4 separate regions of the Homo sapiens genome follow, and all the other regions are linked to region 3. Evidence: promoter capture Hi-C in 16 types of primary human blood cells and fetal thymus (Javierre and others, 2016). All regions are on one chromosome and are shown on one strand. Each heading gives the region's core, a stretch centred on a gene start or on the middle of the fragment in contact. The rest is flanking DNA. Distances are from core to core; before and after follow the strand shown. Region 1 has its middle 30 kb from the start of RBMXL2. Region 2 overlaps NLRP14 (NLR family pyrin domain containing 14). Region 3 holds the start of NLRP10 (NLR family pyrin domain containing 10). Region 4 has its middle 6.6 kb from the start of RBMXL2.

What was found. Contacts are between HindIII fragments. The CHiCAGO score rates a contact against its expected background, and 5 or more counts as called.
Region 1: a fragment that was not itself captured here is called in contact with the fragment with the promoter of NLRP10 in region 3 in 1 of 17 cell types (M0 macrophages); the score reaches 6.0 in M0 macrophages.
Region 2: a fragment that was not itself captured here is called in contact with the fragment with the promoter of NLRP10 in region 3 in 1 of 17 cell types (M2 macrophages); the score reaches 5.0 in M2 macrophages.
Region 4: a fragment that was not itself captured here is called in contact with the fragment with the promoter of NLRP10 in region 3 in 1 of 17 cell types (M0 macrophages); the score reaches 6.2 in M0 macrophages.

Annotation. Positions count from the first base shown.
Region 1 is chr11:7,118,018-7,120,750 of GRCh38, reverse strand. No RefSeq gene overlaps it. Among named protein-coding and RNA genes, the nearest start is that of RBMXL2, 30 kb to the right of the region's middle. The HindIII fragment of the contact is 1,133 bases long and covers 821-1,953 here.
Region 2 is chr11:7,046,860-7,049,923 of GRCh38, reverse strand. It overlaps NLRP14 (NLR family pyrin domain containing 14), which reads right to left. Exons shown (of 12, transcript NM_176822.4): 6 at 86-253. Among named protein-coding and RNA genes, the nearest start is that of NLRP14, 28 kb to the right of the region's middle. The HindIII fragment of the contact is 3,423 bases long and covers 83-3,064 here.
Region 3 is chr11:7,964,197-7,967,193 of GRCh38, reverse strand. It overlaps NLRP10 (NLR family pyrin domain containing 10), which reads left to right and starts at 1,747. Exons shown (of 3, transcript NM_001391958.1): 1 at 1,747-1,948. The HindIII fragment of the contact is 1,817 bases long and covers 263-2,079 here.
Region 4 is chr11:7,094,083-7,097,125 of GRCh38, reverse strand. No RefSeq gene overlaps it. Among named protein-coding and RNA genes, the nearest start is that of RBMXL2, 6.6 kb to the right of the region's middle. The HindIII fragment of the contact is 1,994 bases long and covers 293-2,286 here.

The DNA of each region.
Region 1 (2,733 bases), core at 138-2,637, 850 kb after region 3:
CTGGACACTATGTGTGTTCTTTGCTGCTGGGGCTCCATTGCTTTTAGGCTGTCTCAGCAGAAAAAGCTAGAAAATATAGAAAATGTACACACACACACATGTATCTATCTACACATGCACATACAGGGCTATGTCCTTTTCCTTTCTTTCACTCTCTCTCTCGTGTGTGTGTGTGTTTGTGTGTGTGTATAATATAAATATATATCTCTCTCAAGAGTTCATCATACTGGTATCTCCAATTCTGATGGAACACCATTCTGTTCTAATTTTCACCCTTTAAATTATTGAATATCCTTTCTCTTACAGTGAGAAACTTGGCTCCCGTTACTTTTGGCCATTTCCTTTATTTATAAACAATGCCTTTTTAGCTCCAGCCCCACAGGATCCATTAGCCAATGCTGTCTCCTAGGCCCTAAATGCCTCCTCCACCCAGGCCTTGCAGTCTCGCAGGAATAGACATTTTTGCAATTAAGCATCAGAAGAGTAAGAACAATAATGTAAACAGACCAGGGCCTTAGAACTGCCGTGTTGGTGGAACATGTGAGTGATAATCCAAGGCTGCATAAGGTTCAGTGTACATACAAAAGATGGAGGGGGTGGTTAGGAAAGACTTTATGTATAAGCTAATCACTGTTCAGCCCTTAAAATTATATCTGGCAAAGAGAAGAGACAGAGAAGGTACAGGTAGAGTGCACAGCACGAACAAAGATATGGAGGTATGAAACAGATTTTTCTATTCAGAAAATTTTAAGCAGAAGACAAAACCTGCAGAGAGAACTGCAATGAGAGATAAAGCTGTACAATATGCAGGATACAAGCTTTATACATTATTTACAAAAATGTTTAAAAGTTATTCAATAGTTAATGGGGAGCTATTGTCTAGTTTTAACATGAGAGATATTTTAGTTCTAAATGTGAGTTTTTAAAATGCCACTTTGTCTGAAGCATTGAGATTAAAATTGAAATGGGGCTACACTGAAGGTGGCAAATAGTTAAAAGACTGCTGTGATATATCAGGGAAGGGATCTAGAAGGCACTGAACCAAGGCAATAGCCATGTGAATGGAAATAAGAAGGTGGATGCAGAAGTGTTAAGGAGATAGAATCAATATGTTTTAATGATAATTAGAGATGGAGAACGTGGAAAAACTTGAAACATACAGGGACATCTATGATCCCTGCATAGGAGACTGAGATCATGGTAGTAACATTCACTGGTAGAGTATAGAGAGGGTGTTTTAGAAAGAAGATGATGAATTCAGCTTGTGACTTCTTGAGTCTCTCTCTTAGCCAGCTCAGGCTGCTATAACAAATTACCATCGACTAGGTGGCTTGAAGAATAAACATTCATTTCTCACAGTTCTGGAGACTGGAAGTCTAAGATCAGAGTGCCAGTATAGTTGGGTTCTGGTGAAGGCCCTGTTCCAGGTTTACAAATGCCCATCTTCTAATTATATCCTCAAATAGCAGAAATAGGTATCACCTCCCTTGTGTATCTTCTAATGAGGGTACTAATCCCACTCTTGAGGGCCTCACCCTCATGACCTAATTACCTCCCAAAGACCCTCCCCCAGTACCACTGCACTGGGGGTTGGGATTTTTCAATGTATGAATTTCGGAAGGACACAGACATTCAGTCCATAACCATGTGAGTTGCCTGTTGTATATCCAGTAAGATATATGAACTGAGCAGTAGGTCTGACGCTCCCAATTGAACAAGACTGAAGATAAAACTCTGAAAGTCACTAGTGTATTAGTGGTAGTGGAAACTGCAATAATCGATTATACAACCTAGAGAATTTTGTTCTGTGAAAAGAGAAGAGACAGCCGAGAACAGATCCTGAAAACAAAAACATCCAAGGGATGCCTAGAAGACTTGAAGACTTGCAAAACAGCCTATGAGAAAATGATTGAAGAATGAGAGGAAGAAGCAAGAATGTTCAGAAGCCAAGCTTATGGGAGTGACTTCTTGCTTTAAGTCACTTTTGAATAGCTCCCCACAATACAGCTTTCTCAATTAAAAATAGCCAAACAAACAAAAGGGAAGAAAAATGTACATTCAGTGACAAAAGCCTAAAATTAAAACCAATTCCTAATAACATCAGAATCTTTTAGGAATCTCCCACTCCATTCCTTAACACTCTCATGCTTTGTCTCATACCATTGAGGCTCTGAAAGCATGAGTGGAAACTAATATATAATTCATAATCAGCTAAACTACCCACAAACTACTCCATGACCACCTTCCTCCTGGCACATTTTTGTGTATATATATATATATATATATATATGTCTTCATCTCATCCATCAAGCTGCTCCCTCCACCACCCATCTGCAAGGTTTTCTCATCATCCATGTGTGTACCTTTGATGCACCCTCCTCAAAGTTTAATGTGCACTGAAATCAAGTGGGGATCTTGTTAAATGCATTTTAATTATAGGTGGAGTCTGAGATCCTGCATTTCTAACAAGCTCCAGCTGATACATCACTGCTGATCTGAGGACCACACTTCGAGTAGAAAGGATTTTTCTCACATCTCCACCTGTTTATAACATACATTCTTATATATGGTCTCTCAATCTCTGCCCTTTTATTTCCCCATTGATGCCTCTTTCAACGTTACTATGCCCTCTACTCCTTTCTGCTGATCCACTATGCATCTGTAGCTTTTATTCTGGCATTCAATAATGTTGTTATCTTCCTCACTTCATTCTTATCCTGTGCCTTAACTCGA
Region 2 (3,064 bases), core at 545-3,044, 920 kb after region 3:
GCAAATCCAGGCTGTAAGAGTCTACTTGGATAGACAAAAGCCTCAATTATAAAAACAAAACAAGACAAAACAATTCAAAGCTTACCTGAGAGTCTGTAGTTTACACTCTGGGTGTTTCAAGGCCTCACACAATGACTTTACTCCATTATCCCCTATATCACTCCCTTTTAGGTCAAGATGCATCAGATTCTTGTTATGAATCAAAGAAGTAGAGATATCCTGACAACCATCAGGGAAAGTGATAAATTTCAACCTTCAGAAGAAAAATATGCAGGAGGTATTACAAAACCATTTCTCTCCTTGGTTACAGGATCCCTTTCTTTTCAATCTAATTCTTGGATATTACATGAATATTCTTTTATCTTATTTTCATCTAAAACAATTGGGTTATAACTTCAATTTCTATTTATGACCTGATAATTGACACTCCCCAGTTTTTTTTACCTTAACGGAAAAGAAGGTGATAACATCATGAAAAGCAGAAGAGGAGCCTCTTTAACTTGTAATCCCAGGAATGACTATCAAAAATTATCAGGGCCATTCCAAGTACTACAATAACATTAATTCACAATAGCCAAATCTTTAAATAATCCAAGGTTAATTCAAAATTAGCATCAACTGTCTGATGTGCAGTAATAACAAAACGCTGTTGCAAAACATGCTGTGCCATCTTGGGGACTTCGTTAGGCATACGGAGGCAGGTGTACGGAGGCAGCCCAAGCAAAATATTATGAAGTTAAATCTGCCAATTTTTTTCCTACTTTCTACCTCCTAACTCAGTCAATGTCAGATATTTCTGATTCTTCTATAGTGTCTCTGCTAGTCCCCAATGCCCTTCTGTTCACTGTCCAAAACCTCGCTTTGTAACACCACCTTTCCTCCTTTCGGCCCACCACCCACCCTCCACCCTCACTCCCCTCACCCCAGGCAAGTACACACAGGAAAATAAAGCCTTTACCCATTTATAGCACTAACCATCCTCATCTAGTAAAAGTGCCTAAGGCACTCAGTAAACATAAATGGCACCATCTCACTTATTAGGAAAAAGGGACCACAGTAAGACAGACCACATTAAGGTGGCACAGACTGAGAACAGTCATCATGGTGTCATCCCACTGATGCAACCCTCCCATTCTAAGAAAGGAAGTCAGTTAACCAAGAAGGCATTGGCTATTGTGAAGATCCGGATTGATGACATCCAATGAAGGGACAATATGGGGGAAATGTTTAGGGATGAGTGGAAAGGACTTCCAGGAACCCCGTAATCATAACATACATCTAGTTGTCTTACTACATCTATATGTAAGACCAAGCCTACTCTAGATGCTTGAAATCTAAGGTCAGAACTCACTAAAAACACTGAGATCAGGAGGAAAATATTTGGTGAGAAGCCTGTCCCCAGCCCCCACCCAAAAGAACATCTATTTTCAGTGCTAATGGAAACAAAGATCTATCATTTGTTCAGCATTCAGTTCATACTAAGCAACAAATGTACCTTGTACATATTGACAGGCACAAAATACAGAGATTAGGATCAGTTTCAGCTCCTAGTGGAGTCCTTACACAAAAAGGTAAGAGACATGTGAACAATCAACATTTTAAAGTGATTATCTAGAATCCAATTAAGATAAATTAAAATTTAAAAAAGACTGACAGCATCTAATGTTGGCAAAGATTACCCTTATTCCTAACAGGTTAGGGAAACCTCCAGGGGTCTATTAACAAGAGAATGAATAAACAAATTATAGTATAAGTATAGTTATACAATGGAATACTAATCAGCAATAAAAAAGAAACTACTAAAAGTTGCAACAAAATGGATAAATTTTAGAAGACATTTTGTTGAGCACAAGAAGATGGATATAGCCAGGTGTGGTGGCTCATGCCTGTAATCCCAGCACTTTGGGAGGCCAAGATGGGTAGATCACTTGAGGTCAGGAGTTTGAGACCAGCTTGGCCAACATGGTGAAACCCTGTCTCTACTAAAAATACAAAAATTAGCCAGGTGTGGTGCTGCGTGCCTGTAGTCCCACCTACTCGGGAGGCTGAGGCAGGAGAATGGCTTGAACCTGGGAGGCGGAGGTTGCAGTGAGCCGAGATTGTGCCACTACACTCCAGCCTGGTGACAGAGCAAGACTGTCTCAAAAAAAAAAAAGAAAAGAAAAGAAAGAGAAAGAAGATAAATTAAAAAAAATACATACTGTATAAATCAATCAAAATGATTCCAAAAAGATACAAAGCTGAACTCTGGTGACAGAGATTAGAAAATGATTGTCTCTGGGAATGGATGGGGTGAGAAGATTGAACAGAAAGGGATAGGCTGGACATTGTGGCTCATGCCTGTAATCCCAGCACTTTACGAGGCTGAGGCAGGAGGATCTCCTCAGCCCAGAAGTTTCAGACCAGCCTGGGCAACACAGTGAGACCACATCTCTACAAAAAATTAAAAAAAAATAGCCTGGCATGGTGGTACATGCCTGTAATCCCAGCTACTTGGGAGGCTGAGGTGGCAGGATTGCTTGAGCCCAGGAGTTCTAGCTGCGATAGCATCACTGCATTCCAGCCTGGACAACAGAGTAAGACCCTGTCTCAGGAAAAAAAAAAACGAAAGGGGTACAAGGGACCTTTCTGAGATAAATGAAAATATTTTCTATCTTGTTTTGGGTGTGTTGGTTATAAAGATGTTTACACTTGTCAGAACACAACAAACTGAACATTATTTGTGGACTTTGTTAAATGCAAATTTTTCCTCAATAGAAAAAAATTTAAGAGGATAGTAAGTTCCAGAACATGTCCTTGAAAGTGCATTGGTGACCTGCCTAGAATGTTTTAGCTCTGTGCTCTTCATTTAGAAAGTTCCTAATCAAGCCTGAAAAACCCATGTGAACAGCTACTATGCCCTGTGGAATCACTCTGAGAACCAGTTAGTAATGATCCCATGTCCCCAGAGGATTCCATTGTTCCTGTTTATTTTACAAAATGGATTGTAAGTATTTGTTTAGCATTGGCTTCCCCTAACGAGTATGAGTGGAAGATGGGACACAGAAAGAAATTAGAATAACTC
Region 3 (2,997 bases), core at 498-2,997:
GGATGCTGTTCCTTCCAGCCTCCTGTCAAAGGCCAATCTTTTGCCTTTGCTTCGAATCCTGTCCCAATCCCCATTCTCCATTCCCCCCTCTGGTGCTTGCCTTTCTCTTCTGCATTTCTAACCTGACCTCTCTATGGGAGGCTTTGTATCAGCATCCAGGTACATTCCTCCCTTTCCCATGTTAAAGCAAACAAAACCTTCTCTGGACTTCACATCTCCCATATTACCTCAGGACCTTTCTCATCACTTTTGTTACCAAGCTTCCAGAGAGATTTGTCTATACATGTTAACTCCATTTCTTTACCTCTTACTGTTTCTTTGCTAAGTTAATTTTTATCTTTTCAAAGTAATACATGGTTATGATTTCTAAAGTCAATAGGCATTAAAAAACTTATGCCCTGGAACAGTAGTCCTTTCCTCTCCTGATGCCCAGTCTCTTTTCGCTAAAACAACTATTAATACATTAGATTTTAACTATTTCTTCTTACATCTCTGCATTTTGAAGTAATATGTGTACTGTATATCACTATCTTTTGATTCAACATTTTAGGCATTGTCTATCAACTTCCTCTTCTAGTACATTCCACCACCATCCTTTCAATGTAATTATATTTTAAATTTTAGAGCAATGTTCAGTGGTTACACTATGATTTCTATGCAAACATTATTCACACTTGAGTATATTAGTTTACTATTATATTTCCAATTTTATTTTTTGTTTCTCCTCTTGCTAGTAATTTCTTTATTTTACTTTCATTTATCTGGTTTTCTTGGAAGTTACTGCTAGCTTTTTCCACCTTCTAATAGCCTCCCAATAGGCTGTTTTAGAAGGCCAATAGCATCAGCTAGTCTAGCAAGTCTTTTTTCTTTTTTCTTGGAGACATTCTTTTTGGAGAAACCTGTTCTCTTTCTGTCAGGGCTCTTGGGGATCCTCAGCTCTCTAGGCCAGAGGACTGGCTGCCTTCTGGGAATTTGTTTTTCTCCTTTTTCTTTTTTGTTTTTTTGAGACAAAGTCTTACTTTGTTGCCCAGGTTGGAGTGCAGTGGCACAATCTCAGCTCGCTGCAACCTCCGCCTCCTGGGTTCAAGCAATTTTCCTGCCTCAGCCTCCCTAGTAGCTGAGATTACAGGCATGCACCATGATTCCCGGCTAATTTGCGTATTTTTAGTAGAGACAGGGTTTCACCATGTTGATCAGGCTGGTCTCAAACTCCTGACATCAAATGATCCACGCACCTCAGCCTCCCAAAGTGCTGGGATTACAGGCGTGAACCACCATGCCTGGCCTGTTTTTCTCCTTGTTTGAATTCCTACTTCATGGAGCTCCTATCTTCTTCCTTTTTCATTCTCCAGTGATTTCAACAACTTAGAGAAATGGTGCACTGGCGGAGGATATGGTGGTGGCAGTGCTTCAATTCTTTCGTCTCTCTAGTCAAACTGCCCCAGCCTAGGCTGGGGTTAAGTGGTAGAGGAGGAGTGTGGGTTCCAGGGAGGGATGTGGGAAGTCTCCTGGGCTCTTTTTCTCTTGGTGACAGAATAGTTCATGCCTTCCACCCCTCCCTTGTTTCTCAACTTCAACATTTGAAAAAATGAGGTCAAGTTTCCCACTGGTGAGCAATTGCCCATCCCATTGACAGTCATCCCACTGACATTCAGTGGGTGGTTCTGCTTCACAGAGGCTTGGGGCAGATGGGGAGGGGCCCTTCTGTTCCAGGCCTATATACTAGGAACTGTTAGGTATCAAGCTGTAGCTGGTAGGTACCAGCACCACCAAACAGAAGTGAACTAGTGAGTATGGGCTAAGAGAGCCCAAACTTGGACCTGTAGAGCTGTCGGACCAGGAAAGGGGATCTGTTTCGTCTCAGTCCCCAGGCTTTGCTTACTGGGCTCCTGGATCAGGGAGCTGAGTTCTCGCTGCCTCACCTCCAGCTCCCCAAGTCTGAACTGTGGTAAGCAGCCTAGACTGGACATCTTCTTGGCAGGTTCTAGTGTTGTCTTTTCTTTCCTGAATTATTAAATAGCTCTGCCAACATCAGAAATTTGCAGGGAAGCCCTGAGTCTTCCCATGCAGCCTGAAGCTTTGTTGTAAATTGATCCTGCTTTCACAGGCCTGCTTTTCCAAACTGGCCTATGACTCACAACCAAAGTCCCCTGTATCCTAACATGTTCCAAACATTTTCTTTCTCTGTCAGTATGTAGTCAAAATGTTGGTATTTGAATGGCAACAACTCTCTGTGTTCCCAAATTCTCTTTTGAACACTCTCAATGATGAATGTGACATTGTACTACTGAGATGGGTTCCCTATGGGCCTTAGGTCACAGGTGTATTTCTGGATTCTGAAGGCTTTCTATTAATTGTTGCTTTTCTTTTCCAAAGACTGCCACCTGGCCTACATTTTGGTTCTACATTAGAAACACAATTCAAAACTCTGCTCTCCTTTCCCGTTACTTTAGTATTTATACATGTCTCCAGCTTCTGGCAACATTTAGCCTAACTTTCTGGTTCCTGACTCTGTCTTCTATTTCTTTATCTTTTGAGTTTTTTCTGTCTCTCTCTTCCACCCAGGGCATAGACCAGTTTAAATCCTGCCTCTTTGCCCGGTGGCCTAGCTCTGGAAAACTCTGAAAAACCATTTTTCTCTGACTGCCAAATTTCTCATGTGGAACAGTTCCTGAGACGATTTCTGAGATGATCAAAAAGGATATGTAAATCACCTGGCACAAAGTCAGCACTCACAGGTGGCGGTTCCTCTTCCTATCATTATCTGGATTTGTTTCCTTATTTGAATTAGGAGACTTCTAGCTTTGCAATCCCTGTGTGACTGAGGCCAGGAGGCTGACATGTGAGGCCAATGGGTTGAGTGTAGATTTTTTTTACCTTCTTGCCATACCACAGCAGTTCCAGCAAATGTGCTCCAGCTTTCTATAGGTTCACACAGCCAGGGACAGTCTCACTTTTAAAACTTAAAACTTGGCCGGGCACAGTAGCTCATGCCTG
Region 4 (3,043 bases), core at 40-2,539, 870 kb after region 3:
GTCCCAACTGGAGGTGATGGGAGACAGTGACAGATCATCAACTATTAGACTCTCATAAGGAGCATGCAACCTAGGTCCCTCACATGTGCAGTTCACAATAGGGCTCATGCTCCTGTAAGAATCTAATGCTGCTGCTGATCTCAAAGGAGGTGGAACTCAGGTGGTAATGCAAGTGATGGGAGCGGCTGTAAATACAGATGAAGCTTTGCCAGCTCGTCCACCACTCAGCTCCTGCTGTGCAGCCCAGTTCCTGGCCCAGGAGTTGGGGATCCCTGTTATACTACATCAAGCTTTTAAAAACATGTCTCATAGTGCTATGTATCTCTCTTTCATAGTGCTTGTCATGGTTAAAATGTTGCTTTTTGTATGACAATTTAACCAGTCTATCTTACCTTTTGAACACTGTTCCATGTGAGGATTAACAATGTCTACTTTGGCTCACCAATATGTCTCCATTGCTTAGCTAAGAGACAAGGATTAATTTATCCAAAACTAATCCTCAGTAGATTGGCATCCTGGAAAGGATTGGCCTTCTGCAAATTTCACTGAAAGCTGCTTTTAGCCCATTTTTAATGCAGTCAATCATGGTCAGCTGCACAGCCTGGGCCACAGTTACCCCTGCAGCTATAATGTTAGTACATTCTCAATCTTGAATGCTGATGTAGCAAGTCCTGCCTCTAGTTTGCTTTGCTGCCATACAGCTTCAATTACAAGACTTTGACTCCAGCCCTTTACCACCTTAGATAAAAGTATTATTCACAAAAAACATGTTCTTCTCAGCCCCATTTATATTCTACTGTCTCTCCCTTCTCCAGCTGTTGACTGCAAGGTTCAGTGACCCATTGTCAACCTGTCTAGGGCAGACTGATGTTATTATCAAGTCCTCAACTCCTGCAAATCCACAACCACGAGCACTGAAGTGACAGGGTTATAGCTATTTCTGCCATGACATATTGCTATTATATCCTAACCCCTAATTATTCCAGGGTAGGGGCTGGAATCTCCTATATTATGCAACTCAAAAGCCCCACAGCCCAAATGTGGGAGTTCCTCTCCCAAAGCTGAAGTCCAGTCATGCTAAATCTCTGTGTATTCCCACAGAATGCATCTGGGCAACTAGCAAGTACTACTCCACTGTCTCTGTGAATCGTCCTTAATGAATATTAATCTGGCCAATAAGTATGATTGCATTCTTGTCCCTATTTTATAGATAAGGGAAAAAAACAAAGAGCAACCTGACCAAGATCATTCACTAACTGTGATCTTGGTGCTGCTTTTCTGTTTGCCTTAGTTGGCGTGATATTAGCACAGCGTTTGCCATTTGGTGGGTACTACATAAATAAAAATTAGATTCAATGAATAAATGGATAGATAGACAACCAATCTCATGAGGGGAGCATTCTTGACCCTATTTTATAGGTAAGGGGAAAAAAACACAAAGAGTAATTAAGTAACCCGACCAAGATCACAGTTGGTGAATGGTGGACACAGGATTTAAATTCAGGTCTACAAGATTACATATTACTTATTCTAAATTACTACACTCTTCAACTCAGAGATTTCTCTAGGTGCCCCAAAGCCTGAGTCAACTGTAAATAACAATAAAAACAGCTACATTTTTTAAAAATCTAGGCACTGCACTAGGCACTTTATTTCTGGGGCAAAATTGAGTCTAAGCCAATTATGCCAGAGAGCAATAATTCTAAACCCTAACAGATAAGAAGGAATCAAGCCTTTATAATAACATCAACCTGCTTTACTTCTGACTGGTTAGGAATGGGGCACTGAGCCCATGGTGGAAGTTCTGGTCCCCTCAACTGAAGAGGTGAAGAAGAAAGAGGCAGCAGAAAATTAATGGGGACTATAAAGAGTCAAATATATCTCCAAGATTTCAAGCTGGATGAGTGCAGCTTGAGTAAATACAATTAAAACTCTCAAGTGTACTTTTTCTGAAGACTTTTGAGTATAGAAGCAATTTTACTAGGAATATAAATGATAAATTCCAAAGGAAAGTCTGTGCTACTGCTTTGCAGAATGCCGTAATACTACCACTTAACGAACCCCACTGCATTCCAGGCACTGTGCTGGGTGCTGTATATGAGTCATCTTATTTAAAACTTCCATAAATATGATGAAACTGTATTATCACCACACATGAAAAAAACGGAAGGTCTAAAGTTTTAAGAAAGTTGTCCAAGCTACATGAATAACAGAATGAGAGCTTCTGCATATGATCAAAAGATTCTCTCTCTACTATAACAAGCAGCCTTCAAACCTGAGAAAGCTTTACTATTTCTTCCTACTGTTTTCTCTAAAATTTTCATAATAGGTCCTCATATTTTTTATTCCCCTTGAGCACTTTAATAAATATGATAGTGAGATGCATTCAACAAGGACATCATTGCTATGTCGTTCCTCTAATTTTCTGTGCTTGATATGTTCATTCAATGTCACTCACAAAATATTTATCAAAATCATTTTAAAATCATTCTTAGATGTGCTACACTGTAAGAGTAATTAGCTTCAGAATAAACTTCACCACAAATAGAACATGTAGGTTCTGAAAGAAATTGCCATGAGCATTGGATATCATGTGTGCACAGCAAGAGCAATACAGCCTTATTTTGCTTGGTGAGTTCTTAAACACATTCTAAAGAGGAAAACATTTATGAGAACACAGTAACTATCCCCAGAGAGAACATTTATATGGAGGAAAAGAAGGAAAGTTACATCACTTTTAAAATAAAGGCTAAAAGGGAGGGGGCATGGAAACCACATAAAGGTTGAAAAATGTTAGAGGCCCCAGTTAGGAGGAACACTAGCAGAGAAGCCTTCTCTATCTCACTTGGCCTAAGGCAAGGGGAAAAGGGAACTATTGCCCTATGGGGGAAAAAAAAAATTCTACCTCTAGCACTCTTTAAGATAGTCACAGGAGCCACAGTAGAATTCCGGTTGTGATCAGAAACAGAAGATGTTCAGCCTTCATCTTGTGGGGATTCGGTAATGCTGTCAGTTGCCACATGGACAATTTGAATACTCCTGA